Linked DNA regions of Homo sapiens: region 1 is linked to region 2. The links are contacts of gene promoters, found by promoter capture Hi-C in blood cells and fetal thymus (Javierre and others, 2016). All regions are on one chromosome and are shown on one strand. Each heading gives the region's core, a stretch centred on a gene start or on the middle of the fragment in contact. The rest is flanking DNA. Distances are from core to core; before and after follow the strand shown. Region 1 has its middle 3.8 kb from the start of TMEM185B. Region 2 holds the start of CLASP1-AS1 (CLASP1 antisense RNA 1).

Region 1 (6,024 bases), core at 2,357-4,856, 1.3 Mb after region 2:
TGATTTCAGCCTCTTTAATTCTTCAACCCTGTGGAGTTTTCTAAATAAGCTCTGCCAGCTGCTATCAATACAAGCAGACTCACACCACAACTCGGGGTGGCACTGACTCCATTTCCTCAAAGATAACACAGAAAACAGAATAAAAGGCTGGGCACAGTGGCTCACGCCTGGAATCCCAGCACTTTGGGAGGCCAAGGCTGACAGATGACCTGAGGTCAGGAGTTTGAGACCAACCTGGCTAAGATGGTGAAACCCCATCTCTACTAAAAATACAAAAATTAGCTAGGCATAGTGGTGCACCTGTACCACCCAGCTACTCAGGAGGCTGAGGCAGGAGAATTGCTTGAACTCAGGAAGTGGAGATTGCAGTGAGCCGAGATCAGTCCACTGCACTCCAGCCTGGGTGACAGAGTGACTCCATCTAAAAAAAAAAAAAAAAAAAAAAAGGAAAAAAAAAGACACACTAGGCTTTATGTGTCAAGGGTCTTTAGAATGAAGTTGTCCCCCCTTATCCATAGGGGATATGTTCCAAGACCCCCAGTAGATGCCCAAAGCCGCAGATAGTACCAAACCCCTATACACACTATGTATTTCCCTGTGCATACACACCTACGATAGAGTTTAATTTGTAAATTAGGCACAGTACTCTTGTGCTTTGGAGCCATTATTAAGTCAAACACGGGTGACCTGAACAGAGGGACAGTGATCTGGCGGCAGCTGATGTGATCGCCCAGGGAGCACGCCCGGTGTGAAGATGCTGGACAAAGAGAGGGGTCACGTCCCAGGCTAGATGGAGCAAGATTTTGTCACGCTACTCAGAACAGAGTGTCATTTAAAATTTAGGAGTTATTTCTGGAATTTTCCATTTAATATTTTCAAACCTCGGTGTACTGCAGGTAAATGAAAACTTGGAAAGATAAACCTCAGATAAGGGGGGACTACTGTATTCATTCCTTCACCATGGCATGTCTGTGTCTGAGAATCTACCCTTAAAAACAATCTGGATGCAAAGAAGCCGTAAGATAGAGCGCAGTCCCTTCATTTCATAAAAGAATGAAACTAACTCAAATACACAATGCAATGGGTGAGTAAAGTATTGCACTACCCTTAATGTAATATTGTGGGGCCACTGAAAACATGCTCACATGTTTATGGAAATCTGAGAAGTGTTTCTATCTATGGCATTTCATCACATTTAAGACACTGTTGATTAGAGAACACACCACCATTTCACGTACCTTTAAGGAAGAAAAAAATACCCAGAATGGTTATTTAATAAGGGACGTCTAAGTAAAGCTGGGATCCTAAAGGGCTATTTCTTTGGTGGGAGGAGAATGATAAACAGCCTCGTCAGGCAGAAAGAGCCAGTGTCCCAGCCATGGACCCGGATGCAGGGAGGGAACAAAACTGCCCCTGAGGACGTGCACAAGCCAGTACTCATGCTGGTTTGAGTCTGAATTTGCACAAACATATGGTCTGGAAACACCTCAAGCAAATGCTGTAACTGAATTTAAGTTTAAGGTTATGTCAAGTTGGCAGTGCCCCCAGGTGACTGGCAGAAACAAATACAACCACCTCTAGAAAGAACTGAATGTTAACACCAGCTGACAGTGCCTGTAAAACATCAGCCACTGTACAGTGCAAGATCCAGAGACGTTAAAATGTGAAGTGAGTTTTAGAATTAACCATAAGTAAAAAAGCAGAATCAAATGGGTATGTGGAGGATGACATCTCTTTGCCGAGTAGACCGACTGGAAGGAAAAACACAGTAAAATGTTCACAGTGATCTTCTGTAGGTGCTAAGACTACAGCATTTTCTTTCTTTAAACGAGTCTGCGTTTTCCAGCTTTTTCTAAAGTGACCATATAAAAAAAGGAGAAATAAGGAGACGCAAGTGAGAGAATGACTTTGGGTGGGGTAGTCAAGGAGGTGACCCTGAAGGAGGTGACACCTGAACTGAGAAGGGACCAGCACAGGAGAAGCCACCTGAAGAGTTCATTGCTACATGTGTATCCAGGACAAGGACCTGGGGCACAGGGAAGATGCTTGATATGTATTTGTTAAATGAATACACGGGTTAAGGAAGGAAAAAGCTGCTAAAACAGGAGCCTAAGTCTCAAGGGGTCCCAGCCAGAGTCTGGCTCTTCAGGGAGCCATTCTCACTGGACTGAGCTGATAAACAGGGCAGGGACGCCCACCTGGCCAACAGCAGGGCCCTGTGGAAAGTATGCAGCTGCAGAGTTAGCAGAGAACCATGGTTGTGGGTCTTGGGCCTGTTTCCCCATCTGTCAAATGAGGTTAGTGCTTTGCCACCTCTGTCTCTGAAGTCAGCTCCAGATGATATCGTGCTTTGAAATATTAAGCCACGTGCGAGCGTGAGGGGCTGTCACGCTCCAGGAGGTCCTCATGCGAGCCCAGCAGCACCTCCCTGTAACACTGGGAACTGTCAGCACCTCCCTGTAACACTGGGACCTGTGAGCTTCAGACAAGCTGCTTTGTCTCAGGAAGGTTCCCGTGCTCGCTGCTCAGCCCACAGGAGATGTCACATCAGCTCCTGTCTTCCTGCCCGCATGCACTTTCCAGATTCACTTACCATGTACGAGCCTGTGCTGGAAACTGCTAACAGAGATAAGAGATGGGTCCCTGTCCTTGAGAAAGTCACAGGGAGTCCAGAGAGTCAGATGAGCAAACAGGATGATACCCTGTGGGACCCGAGGGAGGGGACACACAATCTGCTGCTGAGAGGCAGTTAACAGCCACCACTGGGGGGAAATAATGGAGGCATTGTAGGTTTCCTACATTGTTTCCTTTTGCTGTCACAGTTTTGGGAGGTTATCTCCATTTCACAGATCGGGGCTGGAAACTAAGTCATCTGTCAAGTTCACAGAGTCTGGACTCGCACCTGGGCTGGGGTGACTCAAGTCCATGCCCACGGGCATACTACTGCACTGGTATGTGTGTGCTGGCAGTGGGGGGGGGCAGGGAGATGGGAGGAGGCTATTGTAGAGGTGACAGCGTGCTCTTCATTTAGAGACTGGGGCCAAGGGGTAATGGTGGGCAATGAGGCTGGCACAAGGGCCAGGTGGGCTGTGGATTCCTTGTGAAGAAGTTGATATGAGCAAATCCACAAATCCGGCCAAAAGGGAAATTTTCCCTGGGCTTTCTGCGCAGGTCATCCCCCTGTCCCAAGCCAGCCCCTCAGAGGACATTCAGCAAAGGCATCCCATGTCCTGCAGCCAGAGGGCTACAGGGAAAACTTAACTCCCACCAGCTTCCAGCTGCTCTGACTGGGACCATGCCCAGGTGTCACTGTCACCCTGGTCTGCTGTGGAGGGTGCCAGGCAAGAGTTCGCTCTCCCTGGAAACCCAGCTCAGCTCTTGCTAAGCAGTGGCTGTTGTGGGGCAGGAAGAGCCGAGCTGGGCCTGACCGCTGGTACGGAGCAGAATTCTAAGGAATTTGCAGATGGAATTGGGGTTACTAACAGGCTGACCTTAAAATAGAGAGGTGATCCTGGGTTAGCTGAGTAACCCAAAGTAATCACAGAAGCCCTCAAAACAAGGAAGGCAGAAGAGAGACTCCAGACATAAGGACTTAACCCACCACGGGTGGCTTTGAAGGAGGCCACAAGTCAGGAAATACAAGGGGCTGAGAATGAACCCCGAGGCCCATGGCTGGCAAGGCAACAGGAACCTCAGTCCCACAACTCGATGGAACTGCATCCTGCCAACACAGAACTCGAATGCAGGTTCACTGCCGGAGTGCCCACACCGAGATCTTGGCCTTGTGACTCAAGCGGAGCACTGGCTGGGCATATGATGCTGACTTCTGACTCTCAGTTCATGGCGGACAGTAACTGACTGCTGCTTTAAACTGATACACCTGTGGCAATTGGTTACCGAGGAAGAAAGATCACCTGGGCTGGAGAGTGGAGGGAACAGGGCCTAGGATGCTGGTGATGAAAGGACACAGGTCCCACTATCGGTGCCACGCTGGCCACAGGAGCATCTCCTCTGGGACAGGAGCATCGCAGTCATGAGTAGTGTTAAATGCATTCCTTCACTCATTCAGCCAACGTCTCTCAAACATTTGCTACGATATAAGTGCTAGCTGGGTGTCTGGAGCTCAAATCTCATGAAAGGACAGAAGGCCAAACAGACAACACCCAGGGAAATGAGTCCCAGGATAGGAACAAGGTCCCCGCCTGCCCCTACCCCACCTCTGGCACCCAGATGCTGTGGGAGGTGAGAGAAGGGTCACTGGTCCACCAGGGGTCGAGGTTTCTCAGGGCTTGAAGCCCTGTCGTGGGTCTTGGTGCCCAGGAAGGAGACAGAGGCCATGTCGGGGTGGGCCACACTCAGGGGGAAGCAGCAGACTGGCTGGGCTGGTACATGGACCATAAGGGACCTGGCCACCAGGTGTGCCGGGATCAGCTCAGGAGAGCCTTACAGTTCAGACAGGAAAGTTGGGACTGAGGATGCCAAGCAGGGGAAAGAGGCTGGGGTTAGGACACATCCCAGGACTTCCCCAACCGTTAGGACAGTGACCTTCAAACCATGTCAGCCCCTGCCCTCTGGGGCCATGTGCCCCCGCACACCCTGACTGGGGGATAGCAGCCCGTGCCGGTGGCCTGGAACACCACATCCACACACACCACCTGTAAGTGAATGAATTCACACTTTGGTTTGTGTACCAGCCTTGGGGACTGCTATGCCGCCAGCACCTGGCACATAGCAAACAATCCATGTTAGCTTTACAGGTAAATAAAAGACAAAGGCGGGTGTCTGAGAGACTGGCCGCATCAGGGAAAACAGTGAAGGAGGGGTGTCTGATGCCCAGGGCATGATGGGGGAGGGGTCAAGGCCTGCAGGCCAAAGGAAGCCAGCTGGGGACAGATGGCAGACAGCATCCCTCACCCTGTGGCACAAGCCTGGAAGCTGGGTCTGCCCTCCCTCAGGAGCTGTGCAGCAGAGCCACTGTTGCACTGTGACAGGACACCTTGATACCCGCTTCTTGGATGGAGAGGGTGCACTTGTTCTGAATGAGGAGCTCAAGGTGGGAAAATAAGCTCCGAGCTCTGTCTTTGCCACAAAGATGGCAGCAGAGGCCCTGAGTTCATCTGACTACATAGGTGATTGGGAAGGACTTCTGACTGTTCTCGCAGGGTCCAGAGGACCTGACTCTGCCACCAGCTCCCGGAGGGTGGGGGCGCTCCTGGCAGCGCCTCCCCTCCACGGGCTCTGCTTTCCTAGTGGGGTCAAATCAATTACTTGCAGGTCTCTAAATGCAAAGTGCAAAGTTCCATGTATTGATTCATCTAATCCTCAAAACAATCCTGTGTGCTTTTCCAAGCCCATTTCACAGATGAAGAGGTTGGATTGGTGAGGGGGTTTTCCACTTTTACAAATTTTTAGTTGACAAATCCTTCTTGGGAGAAAAGAGTACAAAAAAGACCAATGTGTAAAACAGACAGATTGGAGCAACTCTGTTTAGGGGAGGAATGGAGGGAGATAAGGCTCTCCAGAAACAAGAGGCCCTGAAGACACATCTATGAAGTCAGCCTTAAGGGCTGAGCCTGAGGACTGGTGAAGCTCACTCAGCTGGACTCCCTTCCCCAGGGCCACAGATTGCCTGTGGCTGAAGTGAAGTTGTGGAGAGCGCCTCGGGGGCTGGGACTGTCCGCCCGACACCTGGACACCCTGCTCATGCCCGCCTGGGGCAGTGCTGTGAGGGTGCGGGAGGGCCACTCCGCGGAGGCCCTGACAGGCCATGCGTTCCTCTGATGGCCTGTCCCACTTCAGAGCCCAGGACCTGCGTGACAACATCCCACAGCCACTTCAGGAAAAGAGGACTAGGAGAGACTGGTGAGGGCAGCCAGGGCTCTGCTGAGCAGTGGGACAGCGGGGAAGACAGAAATCCTCCAGGGTCTGCCCAGATGGCCAGAGGGCGAAAGGGGTGCTCCAAATCACAGACCCGCTGCAGCCTTGCCCTTAGACACCACCCAGGTCTGTCCCCCAACTTCATAG
Region 2 (5,391 bases), core at 2,498-4,997:
TTGGACCTTGAGAACTCATCTATTCCAGTCTCATTCACATCAATACAGTAGGGTTTATTGATCACCTACCGTGTACCCAGCATTGTGCTACTTATTATGGGAATTCTGAGGAAATGCAAGATGATAGTATTCCTTACATTCAAGGAGTGTAGCTGGGGAAACAAGCACAAACGTAGATAATTAAGTAAAATGTCAGAGTCAAGGGTCACGCAGAGTTAATGGTGTTGGAAGAAAAAAATTACAACAAATTTAAAGATTTTGATTGACTTTTATTCGTGACTTTAGAATCAGGTAACACCTCATTCCATAAAACAGAATTGTGTATTCCAGTGAGCCATGCAGAAGAAGTTGGTTTTATAAACCTAAGGGCTGAAGAAAGCAGAAATAGGGGGAAAAAAAAAGTACCCTTACCACGTGCCAGGCACAGTTTACATACACACTTTATTTAACCCTCACAACAACCCACGAGGCAGCTGTTATTATTGTCCATGTTTTACAGATGAGGAGGTTAGGCACAAAGAGGTTTTTATAGTTAATTATCAGAGTGGTCTTCTGGGCAAGGACTTTTTCATGTATCCCTTTCTTCAGTAGGGAAATGGAAACCCAGGAGAAGGGCCTGAGCTGTGAAAGTGCCTGGAACTGCCTTCTGTCCTCCTGGCTGACACCCTGGACCTCTCCTGTCCTATTTCTCTGGGGCTCAGGTGCATCTACCCACTCAGTCTTCTTCGGGAGTTTCCAGGCTCCCCAGTTCCTCTAGGCAACGCATTGAAACTTGACTGTCCGGGGCTTAGCGAGGCCTTCTCTGCTCAGACCTACCAAGTAAACTGCCATCCTGGAAAAGCTGACGTCAGCTTTCCCCCAAATAAACAATAGTCCTCTTTACCTTAGCCTTGAACGATGTATGAAGGGATGTTTCTGTCATGAATAACACCCCTACCTGCAACCAGTAATGCAACTGTGCAGATAAGCTTAAGATTTCACCAGACAAAAGCTAAATAACTCACTTAAGTGATGGGCTGTTCTTTTTAAAAAATAAACTTTTTTACAGAAAAATTACAAATATCTCATTATTATATCTAACATTAATGTGGTTTATTACAATTAATGAGCCAGTATTGATGTATTATTATTAACTAGAGTTCATGCTTTATTCATATTTCCTTAGTTTCTACCTAAGGAAAAATGTCATCTTTCTGTTGCACACTCTTTTCCAGGATACCTCATTACCTTTAGTTGTTATGTTTCCCTTGGCTCCTGTTGCTGTGACAGTTTCTCAGAGTTCTTGTTTTTGATGACCTGGACAGTTTTGAGGGGTACTGGTCAGGTGTTTTGTAGGATGCCCCTCTATTGGAATTTCTCTGATGTTTTCCTCATGTTTAGACTGAGCTTAAGGGTCTTGGGAAGGACTGTCACAGGCAAAATGCCGTTTTCATGACATCATATGACGTGTACTTGATGTTGACCTCCACCATCTGGCTGAGGTTGCGTCTGTCAGTTTTCTCCGCAGGATAGTTACTCCTCCACTTCATACTGTACTCTGGAAGGAAGTCATAGTGTGAAACCTAATCCCTTTTAGCTGGAAAGTAGAGTCATTATTTTAAAGTGTTTATACCATTATTATATTATTTAAAAAATCTGTTTACAAATTGTTCTCTTTATAAAAGTTTTAAAAATTATTTTCTTCAATATTGTCAAGTAGCCAGTTTCTTGCAAGAACATTTTATGTATTGTGGGGATTATTGGGCCAATTTAGATTCCTTCAGTTTTGAAGCAGTAGATTTCAAAGCTGAATAGAAAAGTCTGCAGTTTTTGCTTTTATCAGCCGCCAGAGGCAGGCAGGCACAGGCTGTATACAAGAAATCCTAACTGTTGCCCCGTCCTGTTTGGTTGTTGTGTGAACATTGGGCAGTGCCCGGCTTTGTGTTGGAAGCATGTTTAATGAAGTCTCACAGTGCAAAACTGCTTCATACGGAGGAAGGGTTTAATCTGACTATTGGACCATTCCACAAAAAGCTCACTATTTCACATTTCTTTTTCTTTTTTTTTTTGAGACCGAGTCTTGCTCTGTCGCCAGGCTGGAGTGCAGTGGCCCGATGTTGGCTCATTGCAACCTCCGCCTCCCAGGTTCAAGCGATTCTCCTGCCTCAGCCTCCCAAGTAGCTGGGACTACAGGCATGCGCCGCCACGCCCAGCTAATTTTTGTATTTTTAGTAGAGACGGGGTTTCACCATGTTGGCCAGGATGGTCTCTATCTCCTGAGCTCCTGATCCGCCCGCCTCGGCCTCCCCAAGTGCTGGGATTACTATTTTTTTTTTTTTTTTGAGATGGAGTCTCGCTGTCGCCCAGGCTGGAGTGCAGTGGCGCGATCTCTGCTCACTGCAGGCTCCACCCCCCCGGATTCACGCCATTCTCCTGCCTCAGCCTCCCGAGCAGCTGGGACTACAGGCGCCGGCCACCTCGCCCGGCTAATTTTTTGTATTTTTAGGAGAGACGGAGTTTCACTGTGTTAGCCAGGATGGTCTCGATCTCCTGACCTCGTGATCCGCCCCCCTCGGCCTCCCAAAGTGCTGGGATTGCAGGCGTGAGCCACCGCGCCCGACCTGGATTACATTTTATGTGAGGTGCAAAGACCTACTGAAACTTCGTCTCCTATTGAAACTTGACCTAGACTACTGGGCTGACTCAGCATAAGGAAGTTACAGAACAGTTGATGATCGGCGTAAAGTTAAAGGGGTGAAGTTCTGTTGAAATCCTTCCCGTTTAATCACCGCAAAAACTGAAAGAACTTTACTTGCGACACTAAAACCACGCGTCTTGTGCACCCTCTACTGGTTTAACCACAAAGTACTAGTTTATTTACGAATTACTGCTGTTTGAACTGATAAGTCTATGAAAACAGGTTTTCATTTTTCCAAAAATTGCACCAAAATAAAGCAAAAGCTCTAGTTGATGCGGGTGTGTTGTTCAGGCGTTAGCAGTACTGCCCTCACTATGCGCTCATTGGACAGTAGCGCAACCCCAAGAAAAGGATGGTTATAATAGAAAGTCCCTGGGCTGCAAGCAGGAAGCGCCAATACCTGGTAGGGTTGTGGTAATTAATTCGTGAGCCTCGCCCTAGTCGGTCTGGTAGCTAGCTTACCTCCAGCCTCCACAGCTTTCGACGACACCCCAATTCTTTGTTTTCTGAGGCTCCCGAAGGGTCGCAAAAGCGGCGGCTCGGTTTTACCCAGAAGACCGCGCGTCGGCCGCTCGAAAATTTGCATACGCTTTTCTCGCCGGGGCGGGGCTGGCGGGGGCGGGACCGCGGCGCGCTCTTGAACTCCACCCGCAGCTAACCCGGGTTTGGCTACGCTGTATTGCCTTTTATTTCGTTTCTCCTCACCGAGTATTTTCCATTATAGCTGTACATAGCTCTTTTTGTGGAAGATCATCCTTCTTCGTGCTAATCTCTTTGGTCCTCCAGTCGGCATGCGTCTGGACTCTCGGACTGCGTCTGGGCCGGAAATGTCTAGGCCTCCCCGGAGCGGGTGGGCGGGAGCGCTGCCCCGCAGGCCGGCTGCTAACAGGCTCCCGGTGTTTCCCGCTGCAGGTGGTTCTGCTGGGCATGGACATCCTGTCCGCCCTGGTGACCCGGCTGCAGGATCGGTTCAAGGCGCAGATCGGCACAGGTGAGCTGCGGCACTTGTGGAGCGGACCCGGCCCCTTCAGACCCCCAGCCTTCCCTCGGCCTCCCCGGCTCCCAAACCCTCCCGGCAGCCACCCTGCCTCCCCTCCAGCCCCCTCTCCCTCCCTTCCGCTCCTCCCAAACAGCCAGTCCCCGCCCTCCCCCGCAGCCCCCCTAAGCACTCGCAGCCTGGGTCGGCCGCCCCGCTGCCTTCCCTTCCAGCTGGACTCCCCTGGCCTCTGGGCCTGCGGGCGCCCTTACCCTCCCCCATACCTTTGTACTGGCTTCACTGTGTTCTCACACGGAACTTAGTAATACGTGTTCTAATATGAAATATTAGTGCCATTTTTATTTCTTATGCTAAATTAGCTGTCACTCTTTAGTGCCAACCAAGTCATATTTTACCCTGACCCCGGTCCCCTTTAATGAGAGGCAGTTTTCCTTGAGAAATCCTATAAAACCAAGCCAGTTGTATTTTTCTCCAGATGATTATGGTTGGCATGACTATTTTCACCTTGATTGTAAATGTCATTACAAATGTATAGTAAATGTTCACTCTTATTTTGAAGGGAAAACAGTATGTCAGCAAAATGAAACAAAACCCACAGATTTCATAGATTTAAATACCTCTAAATTCCTGACCTCCGGTGTTTCATGGGGGTAGTATAAACACTAAGCATCTCTATGCAACCATTTCCTTATGGAATTTCTCTGTTTTACGTTGGTACACATGTATTCTTTACTGTTAACTTTCCGACCAATATGCTCCTTCTGAAAAGGTCATGAGCACCGACTGTTTACAAATTTAAAAAAAGCTTTTACTTTTAGACATTTGATATTTTAATAGTGTTCCATTTTCCTCCTAAATTAGCTGAATTATTCAGGGATATCTCATGTAATAGAGGTTTACAAACTCTTAAAATAAGCTGATCTCTGGTCTACAGGTGCACTTGGACCACTGGTGGGAGGGTCCACCCTGGGTATGTCGGGGAAGATGGAGAGCTGGGCTCTGTCTCATGTGTGTATGGGCGTGATGTAAAACTAAAAATACACAATAGTGATGAAACTTAAGATTTATTCATAAGTGCCCACTCCTTCCACCCCCAAACACATATACTGGAGCCCCTCTCCTTGTGTTTTACCTAAATTTTCCTTTCTGTTGACTCTTCCTCTCAAGGTCTTCCATTTTTATCAGCTTACAAATACGTTGGGAACTGGCTGGAGGAACGTGGGGTAAGGAGGAAGACAAATAGTGTATCTGTCCATGCAAAGGATTTTGCAGACTCTTTTGGTGACTTTCATGGACTTCAGCAAGGAGAGTAGAGCTGTGAGCAAAGATGAGTGGTTTTAGAATGAGATACATCATTTAGGTCAGGGGTTTGTCTTCCCACATAATTGAGATAGGAATACTTGGTGACCACAGACCCCCAAATAGGGTTTCATTTGATCAGTTTCCATTTTGATTTTCAGTGCTGCCAAGTCTAATAGACAGACTAGGAGATGCTAAAGACTCTGTGAGGGAGCAGGACCAAACTCTGCTGCTAAAGATCATGGATCAAGCTGCTAATCCCCAGGTAGGGGCAAGAGATGTGTTTTGAGGTCAGCTGGCCAGTGCGCGTGCATGCACGTGCGAGGGTGTGTGTGTGTACTTGCACAAATGGTGTGACTCCATAGACTTAAGCTGATGTATTACAGATAAAAATTTTCACAGCATTCAATCTGTTTCC

Evidence for each region. Contacts are between HindIII fragments. The CHiCAGO score rates a contact against its expected background, and 5 or more counts as called.
Region 1: a contact is called between a fragment that was not itself captured here and the fragment with the promoter of CLASP1-AS1 in region 2, in 1 of 17 cell types (activated CD4 T cells). The highest score is 5.4, in activated CD4 T cells.

What each region holds. Positions count from the first base shown.
Region 1 is chr2:120,224,238-120,230,261 of GRCh38, reverse strand. No RefSeq gene overlaps it. Among named protein-coding and RNA genes, the nearest start is that of TMEM185B, 3.8 kb to the right of the region's middle. RefSeq lists an enhancer at 5,906-6,024. The HindIII fragment of the contact is 7,669 bases long and covers 1-6,024 here.
Region 2 is chr2:121,528,524-121,533,914 of GRCh38, reverse strand. It overlaps CLASP1-AS1 (CLASP1 antisense RNA 1), which reads right to left and starts at 3,747. Exons shown (of 2, transcript XR_001739683.2): 1 at 3,140-3,747; 2 at 249-1,537. It overlaps CLASP1 (cytoplasmic linker associated protein 1), which reads left to right. Exons shown (of 41, transcript NM_001395891.1): 3 at 3,590-3,668; 4 at 5,135-5,238. It overlaps RNU4ATAC (RNA, U4atac small nuclear), which reads right to left and starts at 3,035; the gene lies at 2,906-3,035. RefSeq lists an enhancer at 3,358-3,487 and a silencer at 3,678-3,877. The HindIII fragment of the contact is 3,511 bases long and covers 971-4,481 here.